2 separate regions of the Homo sapiens genome follow, and region 2 is linked to region 1. The links are contacts of gene promoters, found by promoter capture Hi-C in blood cells and fetal thymus (Javierre and others, 2016). All regions are on one chromosome and are shown on one strand. The core of a region is centred on a gene start or on the middle of the fragment in contact, and the rest is flanking DNA. Distances in the headings are between cores, read along the strand shown.

Region 1 (6,597 bases), core at 2,994-5,493:
AGGCTGAAACTACCTTCAGGGAAACTTTGCTTCTTCCCTTTCTCTGTTCCCTCTAGCTCTTACCAATTCTCCTGGGAGCACATTCTTGACAAGTAACTTGGACATGAATCCTCATCTCAGGATTTGCTTCTGGGGAACTCAATCTAAGACAATGAGTGCAGGGGTTGCCAAATGCAGCTTGCCACCTATTTTGTTAGATAAAGTTATATTGAAACATGGCTATTCTCATTCACTTTTTTTTTTTTTTTTTTTTTTTTTGAGATGGAGTTTCACCCTGTCACCCAGGCTGGAGTGCAGTGGTGAAATCTTGGCTCACTGCAACCTCCGCCTCCCTGGTTCAAGCAATTAATTCTCTTGCCTCAGCCTCTGGAGTAGCTGGGATTACAGGTGCCTGCCACCACACCTGGCTGATTTTTATGTTTTTAGTAGAGACGGGGTTTCACCATGCTGGCCAGGCTGCTCTCGAACTCCTGACCTCAGGTGACCCGCCCGCCTCGGCCTCCCAAAGTGGTGGGATTACAGGCGTGAGCCACCCTGCCCGGCCATCATTCACTTTTGTATTGTCTGTAGCTGCTTTTCCACTACAATAGCGGAACCAAGTCATTGTAAAAGAGACTGTGTAGCCTGCAAAGCCTAAAAAATTTACTTGTTTGGCCATTTTCAAACAAAGTTTACAGACCCCTAACCTGGAGTAAGTCTCTTAGTACTTTTGACTTGTCTTCAGGGGTTGTCATAAGGATTAAGTAAGTTAGAAAGGGCCCAGCACATTCTCTGGCTCTTATCAGGCACTCAACTTAAGTCTGTTGAGGTGGAATGTAACGTAGAGTATTTCCCAAGTTGTGGGTCCTGTTCTTACATCTTGGGGATTCTAGAAATTCCCCTTTTGATTTTTAGACTTCTTGCCCCTCCTATCCAGAAAAGGATAGTTCCCAGTTAAGCAGATTTTTTTTAAAGCATCAGTTTGGTGAAAAACCAGTCAAGCAGATTTTAAGGCAGTGTTACTCTGCCAATCACCAGCATAAGAATCTGCTGTGAAGCTTGTTGAACATACAGATTCCTGAGACCCACATTAGACCATCCCTGGAATTAGAATCTCACAGTGCAGTCTAGTTCCCCAGGTAATTTTGATACACACTAAAGCTTGAGAAAACAGATCTAAGGTAAATCTATAAATAAGTGCAATGGTTTAAAATCACAGATTCAAGAAAGTGTTTACTTGTGGGGAGAAGGGGTTTTAGGAGGACCACACAGAGAACCTTGAATATACTTTTCATTTTGCCAGGCATTGTTCTAGGTATCCTTCATGCTCATTTAATCAACTTAAAGCCCAATTAATAAATATGCTTATGTTTTTAAGGTTGAGAAAATGGAAGCACAGAAATTCAAGTATTTTGTCCAGGATTACACAGCCAGTATAAGCCGAGCCAAGATTCCAACATAATTCACTGCCTCTGGAGTCCAAGGTGGTTTTTTGTTTGTTTGTTTTTTGTTTTGCTTTGTTTTGAGACAGGGTCTCATTCTGTCGCCTAGGCTGGAGCCCATTGGAGCCATCACAGCTCACTGCAGCCTGGATCTCCTGGCTCAAACGATCCTCCTGCCTCAGCCTCTTGAGTAACTCGGACTATGGGCACAGGCCACCATGCCCAGCTAAGTTTTAATTTTTTTTTTTTTTGAGACAGGGTCTTACTCTGTCACCCAGGCTGGAGTGGAGTGGTGCAATCTCAGCTCACTGCAACCTCCACCTCCTGGGCTCAAGTGATTCTCCTGCCTCAGCCTCCCAAGTACCTGGGATTACAGGCACGTGCCACCACACCTGGCTGATTTTTGTATTTTTAGTAGAGACGGGGTTTCACCATGTTGGCCAGGCTTGTCTTGAACTCCTGACCTCAAATGATCCACCCGCCTTGGTCTCCCAAAGTGTTGTGATTACAAGCATAAGCCACTGCTCTGGCCTAAATTTTTTGTAGAGATGGGATCTCACTATGTTGCCCAGGCTGGTCTTGAGCTCCTGCGATCAAGTGATCCTTCCACCTTGGCCTCCCAAAGTGCTGGGATTATGAGCATGAATCATGAGGCCAGCCCAGAGTCCAAGTTCTTTTCTTTTTTTTTTTTTTTTTTTGAGACAGAGTTTTGCTCTTCTTGCACAGGCTGGAGTGCAATGGCATGATCTTGGCTCACCACAACCTCCGCCTCCCTGGTTCAAGCGATTTTCCTGCCTCAGCCTCCCAAGTAGTTGGGATTATAGGCATGCGCCACCACACCCGACTAATTTTTTGTATTTTTAGTAGAGATGGGGTTTCTCCATGTTGGTCAGGCTGATCTCGAACTCCCGACCTCAGGTGATCCGCCCGCCTTGGCCTCCCAAAGTGCTGGGATTAATGGCGTGAGCCACCGCGCCCAGCCAAGTTATTAACCACTAAATTATACTTTTTTTTCTATCCCTAGTAATGTTCTATTTCTCAAACTGAGTGGAATAGACACACACATTAGATTTGTTATTTATACCTTACATATATATTACATATACCTTTTTTATTTATTAAAGACTTCACTTAAACATACAAAGGCTTTTACAAAGAGCAAAGTAAAAACGACAATTGGAAGAAAATCTGTTGCTCATTCAAACTTTACTAGCGCCTCCAAGGCTGACACTAGGAGAGAACCTCAAGAGGTCAGCCGAACACCCCAGAGCCCTACCTTTCCTCCAGCACGTCTCCCTTTGGGGAATCGTATCACCCTGGGCGGCAATCTCCCCTCCACCCCTAGAGGGTGCTGTTCTCACTCTCTAAGGCATAGGACCAAGTTTCAGACAGGACTCTCTCTAGGTGACTCTGGCTCCCAGTGCCCAGGGGCAAAAAGAAAAGCGCTGGGCATTATTCTCGAGGTGCCTGCGCGTGCCGCCTCCGATGTGAACTCGCAGTACCATTTCTAGAACTGAATCTAAAGCTCAGAACGGGTTCATGACTTGTCCTAAGTTTTACAAGTCAATTAGCGCTAGGACTTGATCTCGGTCCTCTGAGCAATCCGGTCCCCAAGGCTGCCTGCCTCCCGAGGGTCCGGACAGGGTCTTGGGTACCCCCAACGCTCAAACTCTGAGGGACTGTCTTTCTCCAGAGGGCCCCGGGACCAACAATCTCTTACTCCTGTTAGCCTTGACTAAATACAGCCGGGACTCTGAAGGAGCTGGATCTCGCGTCCCAACGCAGGCGTCCTCCAAGAGGGATAGACAGGCGGGAGGAAAGCGGACCAGGCCAAGCCCATGCGGCGCCGGTCCTGCCAGCTCTACCTGGCGGGGCCGCGCCGGGATTACCCACCTAGCACAAGGATACGGTCCTCGGGCCGCAGCTCCGGCTCTAGGAGGGCACGGAAGGAGGAGAAGTCCCCGAACCAATCGTAGGGGGCAGAATCGGCTGCGCCTTGGTAGCGCTGATCCCAGTACTCGACTTCGCGGTACCCGCAGTTCCGCTCCGGTAACTCCGGAGGCGCCCTACCTGCCCCTGGAGAGGCCATGCTCTCAACCGCCGGGCAGCCAGAGCCGCCGGCCCTTCAGCCAATACGGAAGGCAGGATGCAGAAGGCGGGGCGCTGGTGTCTCCGCCCACCACCTGCAGTTGCTCAACACAAACACGTGGAACTTCCGTCCTTTACTAAGCGCTCTTCGAAGAATCCTCCGGCTGGGAAAACTATCGTCCAGACCCTGAATCCTCCGGCTGTACTGCCAAGTCATTTCCTAGGGCCGCACTCAAGGTGTCAGACTCACGTGGGCTCATCACTGCGTCCTCTCATATTTTCAATATGAATGACTTTTATCAGGAAATCTGAAAATTAGTGAAAGGTTCATTTTTCTCAGCATCCGGAAGGCTCGAAGGGCAGGCAGGAGGGGCGCGAACAGGGGCTTTGCCCTCCTGGAGAGACAGCATGAACACAGATGTTCCCAGCGCAGGCGAAGGAGAATGCTGGCTTCAGCGGTTGTGGGGGAGGTAGGCAGGAATGTTGCTTTTCTGGACATTCGTTCTAAATTAGCGCCTGTGTACCCAGGGCTGGGTATAAACTGAGGAGTAAGACATTGTCCCTGCTCCTATGGAGCGTGGAGTGCATCAGAGGAGACAAATGCAGAAAAATTACATTTTAGTGGAGTAAATGAAGACTGGCTACTCGGATCGGCGCTTAGCCTGGTGGGACGCCAGGCACGGGAAGCGGAACCTAAGTGTCGAAGGTTCGGGTTTCCGGGGGTGGTGGGCCCACACAAGCGGCGCACCGTTAAGATGGCGGCTGGGCTGCGGAAACGCGGCCGGTCCGGTTCCGCGGCCCAGGCAGAGGGACTCTGCAAGCAATGGCTGCAGCGCGCCTGGCAAGAGCGGCGCCTGCTGCTGCGGGAGCCGCGCTACACGCTGCTGGTGGCCGCCTGCCTCTGCCTGGCGGAGGTGGGCATCACCTTCTGGGTCATTCACAGGGTGGCATGTGAGTGCGCCGAGGGGGAGGGGAGGGGAGGGAGGGAGACCTGAACCCGCGACCCAAACTGGATCTCAGACCTGGAACTCCAAACCAGACTCTGTATCCACTCACTCGTCAATTGCGAACCCATCCATATCCCTTACCTGAGCGCCAAGCCTGCTCTACAGAAAACCGGATCTTAATCTGCCCGCATGGCAGAGGTGGATACCCTAGAGATTGGCCTTCTGCACTGAACTTACAGCCTGCAAACCAGCTTAGAAGTCAGATTTGAGCCAAAATTGTTGTACTGCTGCTGCTGCTGCTTTTCTCTGTGGCTTTGGACACCTCAGGTCTCCTCCTGGATCTCAGCTTTTTCCATGTGTTCAGTTCTGTGATCTTTGAACGTCCCTTCTCAATGATGGCATCTTGTGACCACTTGAGTCCATTAGGCATTATTGGCTACTCCTTTCCAGGCTGAAACTATACTCTAGGCTTAAGGCACTTGGCTTTCTTGCTAAAGACTCTTAATTCAACAAATATTTATTTAGTGCTTATTATATGCCTAGCATTATGCTGGTTACCAGAGAGAGGTACAGTGGTGAATAAGAGATGCATTTCTGCCGGGCGCGGTGGCTCACGCCTGTAATCCCAGCACTTTGGGAGGCCGAGGCGGGCGGATCACGAGGTCAGGAGATCGAGGCCATCCTGGCTAACACGGTGAAACCCCGTCTCTACTGAAAAAAAAAAAAAAAAAAGAATTTAGCCGGGCATGGTGGCGGGCGCCTGTAGTCCCAGCTACTCGGGAGGCTGAGGCAGGAGAATGGCGTGAACCCGGGAGGCAGAGCTTTCAGTGAGCCGAGATCACGCCACTGCACTCCAGCCTGGGCGACAGAGCAAGACTCCGTCTCAAAAAAAAAAAAAGAAAAAGGATGCATTTCTAACTCGGGCCTGGACAGTAAGTTAGCAGGCAATTATAATGCATCATAATCATGGTAGTAGTAACACAGGATACCATAAAGGGCATAGGAAGTCACTTAAACCAGGTTGGAGGAGTCAGCAAAGGCTTCATAGAGCCACCCTTGGAAGGTAGGAATTAGCTATTTAAGGAAAGAAGAAAAAGGTGAGGGGAAGGAGTGCTGTGGACAGAGGATCCTCTATTAAAAATCTCCAGCTAGGCTGGGCGCAGCGGCACACGCCTGTAATCCCAGCACTTTGGTAGGCCTAGGCGGGTGGATCTCCTGAGGTCAGGAATTTGAGACCAGCCTGGCCAACATGATGAAATCCTGTCTCTACTAAAAATACAAAAATTAGCTGGGCGTGGTGGCATATGCCTGTAATCCCAGCTACTCGGGAGGTTGAGACAGGAGAATTGCTTGAACCCGGGAGGTGGAGGTTGCAGTGAGCCGAGATTGCGCCACTGTACTCCAGCCTGGGTGACAGAGCAAGCTCCGTGTCAAAAAAAAAAAAAATTCAGTTAGACTGGGCACGGTGGCTCATGCCTGTAATCCCAGCACTTTGGGAGGCTGAGGTGGGCGGATCACTTGGGGGCAGGAGTTAAAGACCAGCCTGGCTGGGCACGGTGGCTTATGCCTGTAATTCTAGCACTTTGGGAGCCCGAGGCGGGCAGATCACCTGAGGTCAGGAGTTCAACACCAGCCTGGCCAATATGTTGACACCCTGTCTCTACTAAAATAGAAAAATTAGCTGGGCATGATGGCAAGTGCCTGTAATCCCAGCTACTTGGGAGGCTGAGATGGGAAAATGGCTCGAACCGGGGAGATGGTGGTTGCAGTGAGCTGAGATCGCACCACTGCACTCCAGCCTGGGTGGCTGAGCGAGACCCTGTCTCAAAAGAAAAACAAACAAACAAACCAGCCTGGCCAACACGGTGAAACCCCATCTCTACTAAAAATACAAAACTTAAAAAATTAGCCAAGCATGGTGGCACACACCTGTAGTCCCAGCTACTCGGGAGACTGAGGCAGGAGAATCACTTGAACCCGGGAGGCGGAGGTTGCAGTGAGCTGAGATCGTACCACTGCACTCCAGTCTGGGTGACAGAGTGAGACTCTGTCAAAAAAAAAAAAAAAAGAAGACAGCCTGGTTCCTTTGAGGAACTGAAATGATTTTTTTAGAGCTAGAGTGTAGAAATCAAGTGAAGGGA
Region 2 (6,035 bases), core at 2,942-5,441, 140 kb after region 1:
ATCGGTTGGTTTTGGGTCTGGGTTTCCTCAGGCAGCTTGGCTAAGGGACCACAGGGCTCTGCAGTATAGCAGCACCAGGATGCTAAAGCATGCAGGCCTCTTGAATTTCTATACGAATTTTAGAATCAGCTTGTCAATTTCTGCAAAAAAAAAAAAAAAAAAAAAAAAGACAGCCAAGATTCTGATACAGATTGCATTGAATCTGTAGATCAATTTGGGGAGTAATGGCATCTTCAGAGGATTTAAGCTTTCCAAATCTTAAACATGGTATATCTTATCTTTCCATTTATTTAGATCTTCTTTAATTTTTTTCAACAGTGTTTTTTAGTTTTCAGTATACAAGTGTTGCACTTCTTTTGTGAAGTTTATCCCTAAATGCCTTATTTTTTTAAAAATGATTCTTAATTTTATTTTCAGAATGTTTATTGCTAGTATATATAAATACAATACTTTTGGTATGTTGATCTTGTGTCCTGTAACCTTGCTGAACTCATTTATTAGTTCTGGTAGATTGTTAGTGAATTCCTTGGGATTTTCTATTTACAGGATCATATCATCTGCAAACAGAGATTGCTTTACTTTTTCCTTTCAATCTGGATGCCTTTTTATTTATTTTTCTTTTTTTCTTTTAGACTGTTCGCTCTGTCGCCCAGGCTGGAGTGCAGTGGTGAGATCTTGGCTCACCGCAACCTCCACTTTCTGTGTTAAAGCGATTCTTCCGCCTCAGTCTCCCAAATAGCTGGGATTACAGGTGCCCATCACCATGCTTGGCTAATTTTTGTATTTTTAGTAGAGATGGGGTTTCACCATGTTGGCCAGGCTGTTCTCCACTTCCTAACTTCAAGTGATCCACCCACCTTGGCCTCCCAAAGTTCTGGGAGACATGAGCCACCGCACCCGGCCTGCCCTGAATAATGTTAAGTACAATGTTGTATAGAGGTGGAGAGAATAAATATTCTTGTGTTGTTCCCACTTTTAGGGGGAAAAGATTCAATTTTTTGCCATTTGGTATGATGTTAGCTGTAGATTTTTCATAGATGCCCTTTAACAGATTGAGGAAGTTATTTTTATTTTTAGTTTGTTGAGTGTTATTTTTTAATCATAAAAGGTTTTGGATTTTGTCAAATGCTTTTTCTGCAGCTATTAAAATGATCATGTGGGTTTTGTTCTCTTAATATAGTGTATTACATTAATTGATTTTCTGATATTATACCAATCTTGTATTCTTGGGATGAGTTCCACTTGTTCATTGCATATAATCCTTTTTATATGTTGCTGGATTCAGTTTGCTAGTATTTTTTTTTTTTTTTTTGAGACAGTCTCACTCTGTTGTCCAGGCTGGAGTGCAGTGGTGCAATCTCAGCTCACTGTAACGTCTGTCTCCTGGGTTCAAGTATTTCTCCTGCCTCAGCCTCCCAAGTAGCTGGGATTACAGGTGCACGCCACCATGCCTGGCTAATTTTTTTTGTATTAATAGAAATGGGGTTTTGCCATGTTGGCCAGGCTGGTCTCGAACTCCTGACCTCAGGTGATCCACCGGCCCTGGTCTCCCAGTGTGCTGGGATTATAGGCTTGAGCCACTGTGCCCGGTCTGTTTGCTAGTATTTTGTTGAGGATTTTTACGTCTATATTCATATGAGATATTGGTCTGTAGTTTTTTTGTTTTTAAATATAACATCTTTGTCTGGTTTCAGTATCTGGATAATAATACTGGCCTCATAGAATGAGTTGCAAAATGTTTCCTCTTCTTTTAATTTCTGAAAGAGACCGTGTAGAATTGGTATTAATTCTTCTTTAAGTATTTGATAAAATTTACCAGTGAAGCTGTCAATGCCTATGGGAAGCTGTTTCAAATTATTAGAATCAACTTAAGTTTATTTAACATTTTATCATGACTAGTGTGAAGTTATGCACCTTAATTTTTTTAATTGAGAGATTCCTTCTCTCTCTCTATAAACTTGTAATTTATGAAAAATGAAAAAACCCATGTTTTGAAAAAGGTAACATTTAATGGCTCATATTAAAACTGTGATTATTCAGCAAGGTAATAGTTTGAGAGTGAAAGGAATTTCTATATACTTTTAGATCTCTCTTAAGCATACCAAGCATAATTTGACCTAGTTGGTCAAATTATGAGCTTTCCCCATAATCTAGAAGACAACTTTGTCTACCATTTAGTCAAGAAACTAGAGTCAGGAAGAATGATGATATGATGCAGGGGAAAATCTCACCCCTGACATTGTAGGGGGTTTGGGGAAAATAAAGGAGTGAAAAGAGGTAAGAGAGTGGAAAGAAGAATGATGGTCAGGTCTGTGCCTTTGTTTCCTCTCTTTGGGTTCCAATTGAATGATATGGACCAGTATTGAGGAAAAAGCTTGTCTCTCTTTGAGGCTTGTGTAAAGATCAGAGCTTTACAGTCCTCCGAAGGAGTCCAGCAGATAGACTTCAAATAGAAACCTGTGAACTTGGGGAAGAGCTGCCTCTAACTGTTTGCTGCTGTGGTCATTGGACAGCCTGACTGGTTCATGTTGGAAGGCAGGGGAAATTGAATGAATACGTTCAATTATTTCCATTCTCTGCACATGGGAGAGGATTGCTACTTGTTCCTGGATTGACCTGGGAATTGAGGCATGCCCTCCATGTGCTTCAGCAGAATGACAGTGTTTCATCACTGGTTCATATAAGCAGCCTGGCCCAGGCCGCCACAGTTAAGTTGGTTTGCTCTTCTTCGAAAGAACCTTACAGTGTGACCTATACAGGTACTGAGAGGACACAAAATTACGAGCAGGCAACGAAAACAACGGGGCCAGGCGCAGTGGCTCACACCTGTAATCCCAGCATTTTGGGATCCCGAGGCGGGTGGATCACTGGAGGCTAAAGTTCGAGACCAGCCTGGCCAACATGGTGAATCCCCGTCTCTACTAAAAAAATGCAAAATTAGCCAGGTGTGGTGGCACATGCCTGTAATCCCAGCTACTTGGGAGGCTGAGGCACGAGAATCGCTCGAACCCAGGAGGCGGAGGTTGCAGTGAACTGAGATCGCACCACTGCACTCCAGCCTGGGCAACAGATACTCTGTCTCAAAAGGAAAAAAAAAAAAAGCCTACTGATTGTCAATCACATATACAAAATACCTTCACAGCAACATCTAAACCAGTGTTTGACCAGACGACTGGGCGCCACAGTCTAGCCAAATTGACATTTAAAATTAACCATGTCAGGCCGGGCACAGTAGCTCACACCTGTAATCCCAGCACTTAGGGAGGTTGAGATGGGCGGATCACCTGAGAGGTCAAGAGTTCGAGACCAGCCTGGCTAACATGGTGAAACCCCTTCTCTACTAAAAATACAAAAATTAGCCAAGCACGTTGGCAGGCGCCTGTAATCCCAGCTACTTGGTTGGCTGAGGCAGGAGAATCTTTTGAACCTGGGAGAATCTTTGGAATTTTTTGAACCTCACTGGGTTGCAGTGAGCCGAGATCATGCCACTACACTCCAGCCTGAGAGACAGAGCAAGACTGCATCTCAATAAATAAAATAAAATAAAATAAAATAAAATAAAATAAAATAAATAAACCATGTCAATGACCAATATGAATATTGAGGACAAGGGCTCCTTCTGAAGTAGGATTAAGAAAGGAGAGAAGATAATTTCTAGGACATGTGATTAGAACACTTAAAAGACTTCATGAGGCTGGGCATGGTGGCTCATGCCTGTAATCCCAGCACTTTGGGAAACCGAGGTGGGTGGATCACCTGAGGTCAGCAGTTCAAGACCAGCTTGGCCAACATGGTGAAACCCCATCTCTACTAAAAATACAAAATTAGCCGGGTACGGTGGCATGCACCTGTAATCCCAGCTACTTGGGAGGCTGAGGCAGGAGAATCATTTGAACCCGGGAGGTGGAGGTTGCAGTGAGCCAAGATCGTGCCACTGCACTCCAGCCTGGGCAACAGAACAAGATTCCGTCTCAAAAAAATAAAAAAAGACTTTATGAAATTAAAAATTATTTTTAATTAAAACATTCAGTAGATGAGCTGAGAATAGAAATGGTCACTCCTGAAAACTGAATTGTTGTCTGAAAGATTGGTCACAACACAAAGCCAAGCCACAAAAAATGGAAGCTGGAAGAGAAAAAGACAGTTTAGAAAACAGATCCATAGGACCTAACTTGTGAATAGCACAAATGCCTGAACAGCGCTGGGTACGGTGGCTCATGTCTGTAATCCCAGCACTTTGGGAGGCCGAGGCGGGTAGATCACGAGGTCAAGAGATCAAGACCATCCTGGCCAACATGGTGAAACCCCATCTCTACTAAAAATACAAAAATTAGACGGGCATGGTGGCGTGCGCCTGTAGTCCCAGCTACTTGGGAGGCTGAGGCAGGAGAATCGCTTGAACCGAGGAGGTGGAGGTTGCAGTGAGCTGAGATCACGCCATTGTACTCCAGCCTGGTGACAGAGCGAGACTCCATCTCAAAAAAAAAAAAAAAAGAAAAAAAAAAAGAAATGCCTGAACAGAAAAAGAACAGATGGAAGAGAGTAAGTAGAGTGTTACTTATATCCTAGAAAAAATTCCCCAAACAGAAGAAAGATTTAAATATTCACATTGAAAAAGGTCACTGAGACACAGAAAGGATTAGTGAAAACACACATTTGACATAACCTAGTGAAATTCAAGCGTCTGTAATCGCCAATGGGGTCACCTTGCCTGCTGCCTAGACAGAGCCAACTCATCAAGACAGGGAAATTGCAATAGAGGAAGAGTAATTCATGCAGAGCCTGCTGTGCGGGACACTGGAATTTTATCAGCCTCCCTGAGCATTCGGGGATCAGAGTTTTTAAGGACAACTTGGTGGGTTGGGGGAAGCCAGTGAGCCAGGAGTGCCGATTGGTCAGATCAGAGATGAAATCATGTGAAGTTGAAGCTGTCCTCTTGTGCTGAGTCAGTTCCTGGGTCGGGGCCACAAGATCAGATGAGTCAGTTTATCGATCTTGGTGGCCAGCTGATTCATTAAGTGCAGGGTCTGCAAAATACCTTAAGCACTGATCTTAGGAGCAGTTTAGGGAGGGTCAGAATTTTGTAGCCTCCACCTGCATGACTCCTAAACCATAATTTCTAATCTTGTGGCTAGTTCGTTAGTCCTATAAAGGCAGTCTAGTCCCCAGGCAAGAAGGAGGTTTGTTTTGGGAAAGGGCTGTTATCGTTTTTATTTTATTTTATTTTATTTTATTTATTTTTTAATTTTAATTTTTTTAAAATTTTTGTTTATTTATTTATTTTTGAGACGGAGTCTCCCTCTATTGCCCAGGCTGGAGTGCAGTGGCACAATCTTGGCTCACTGCAACCTCTGCCTCCTGGGTTCAAGTGATTCTCCTGCCTCAGCCTCCCAAGTAGCTGGGACCACAGGTATGTGCCACCATGCCCCGCTAGCTTTTGTATTTTTAGTACAGATGGAGTTTCACCATATTGGCCAGGCTGGTCTATTATTTTTATTTTTATACAGGCATGAAACGCTGTGCCCAGACCATACTGTACCTTTTGATATTTGTACCTTGTATGTATATTACTCTTCCAAAAATGAATCAAGAATTAATGAAAGAGATGTGCGAAAATATACTAGGCAAAAGCAAGATTTGCAACACTATCCTACAAATGGAAATCATGTTCAAAACACATTGAACAGAACAAATAGTGACAATATATGAGGATAAAATCAGGCACAATTCAAGAAGATATAATAACCATACATTTTTATGCATCAAATCACATAGCTGTCAAGCATATAAAAGGAAAACTACAAGTACCCAGAGAACATGGATAAAATACTTTTGAACTTTAACAGACCACACAGACAAAAATAAGCTATGATATAGAGGATTTGAATAATGTAATAAATAAGCTCTATTTAGTAGATGCATATAGAGAGAATATATACTTTTTTTAAAAAAAAGAACACCTAAGAACACAAATATATACTTTTTAAATGTCCTGAAACAAAGCTTGTTACAGAACCAATCATGCATTCAGCCAG

What was found. The method cuts DNA at HindIII sites, captures the fragments that hold promoters and counts their contacts. A CHiCAGO score of 5 or more calls a contact.
Region 2: a contact is called between a fragment that was not itself captured here and the fragment with the promoter of ALG3 in region 1, in 2 of 17 cell types (M1 macrophages and endothelial precursors). The highest score is 6.2, in M1 macrophages.

What each region holds. Positions count from the first base shown.
Region 1 is chr3:184,246,608-184,253,204 of GRCh38, reverse strand. It overlaps ALG3 (ALG3 alpha-1,3- mannosyltransferase), which reads left to right and starts at 4,243. Exons shown (of 9, transcript NM_005787.6): 1 at 4,243-4,460. The coding sequence starts at 4,265. It overlaps EEF1AKMT4-ECE2 (EEF1AKMT4-ECE2 readthrough), which reads right to left and starts at 3,533. Exons shown (of 19, transcript NM_014693.4): 1 at 3,315-3,533. The coding sequence starts at 3,510. It overlaps EEF1AKMT4 (EEF1A lysine methyltransferase 4), which reads right to left and starts at 3,533. Exons shown (of 3, transcript NM_032331.4): 1 at 3,315-3,533. The coding sequence starts at 3,510. RefSeq lists enhancers at 3,647-3,756, 3,787-3,846, 3,927-3,976, 4,175-4,918, 4,919-5,662. The HindIII fragment of the contact is 5,512 bases long and covers 1,143-6,597 here.
Region 2 is chr3:184,109,352-184,115,386 of GRCh38, reverse strand. No RefSeq gene overlaps it. Among named protein-coding and RNA genes, the nearest start is that of HTR3E-AS1, 7.2 kb to the right of the region's middle. The HindIII fragment of the contact is 3,629 bases long and covers 2,377-6,005 here.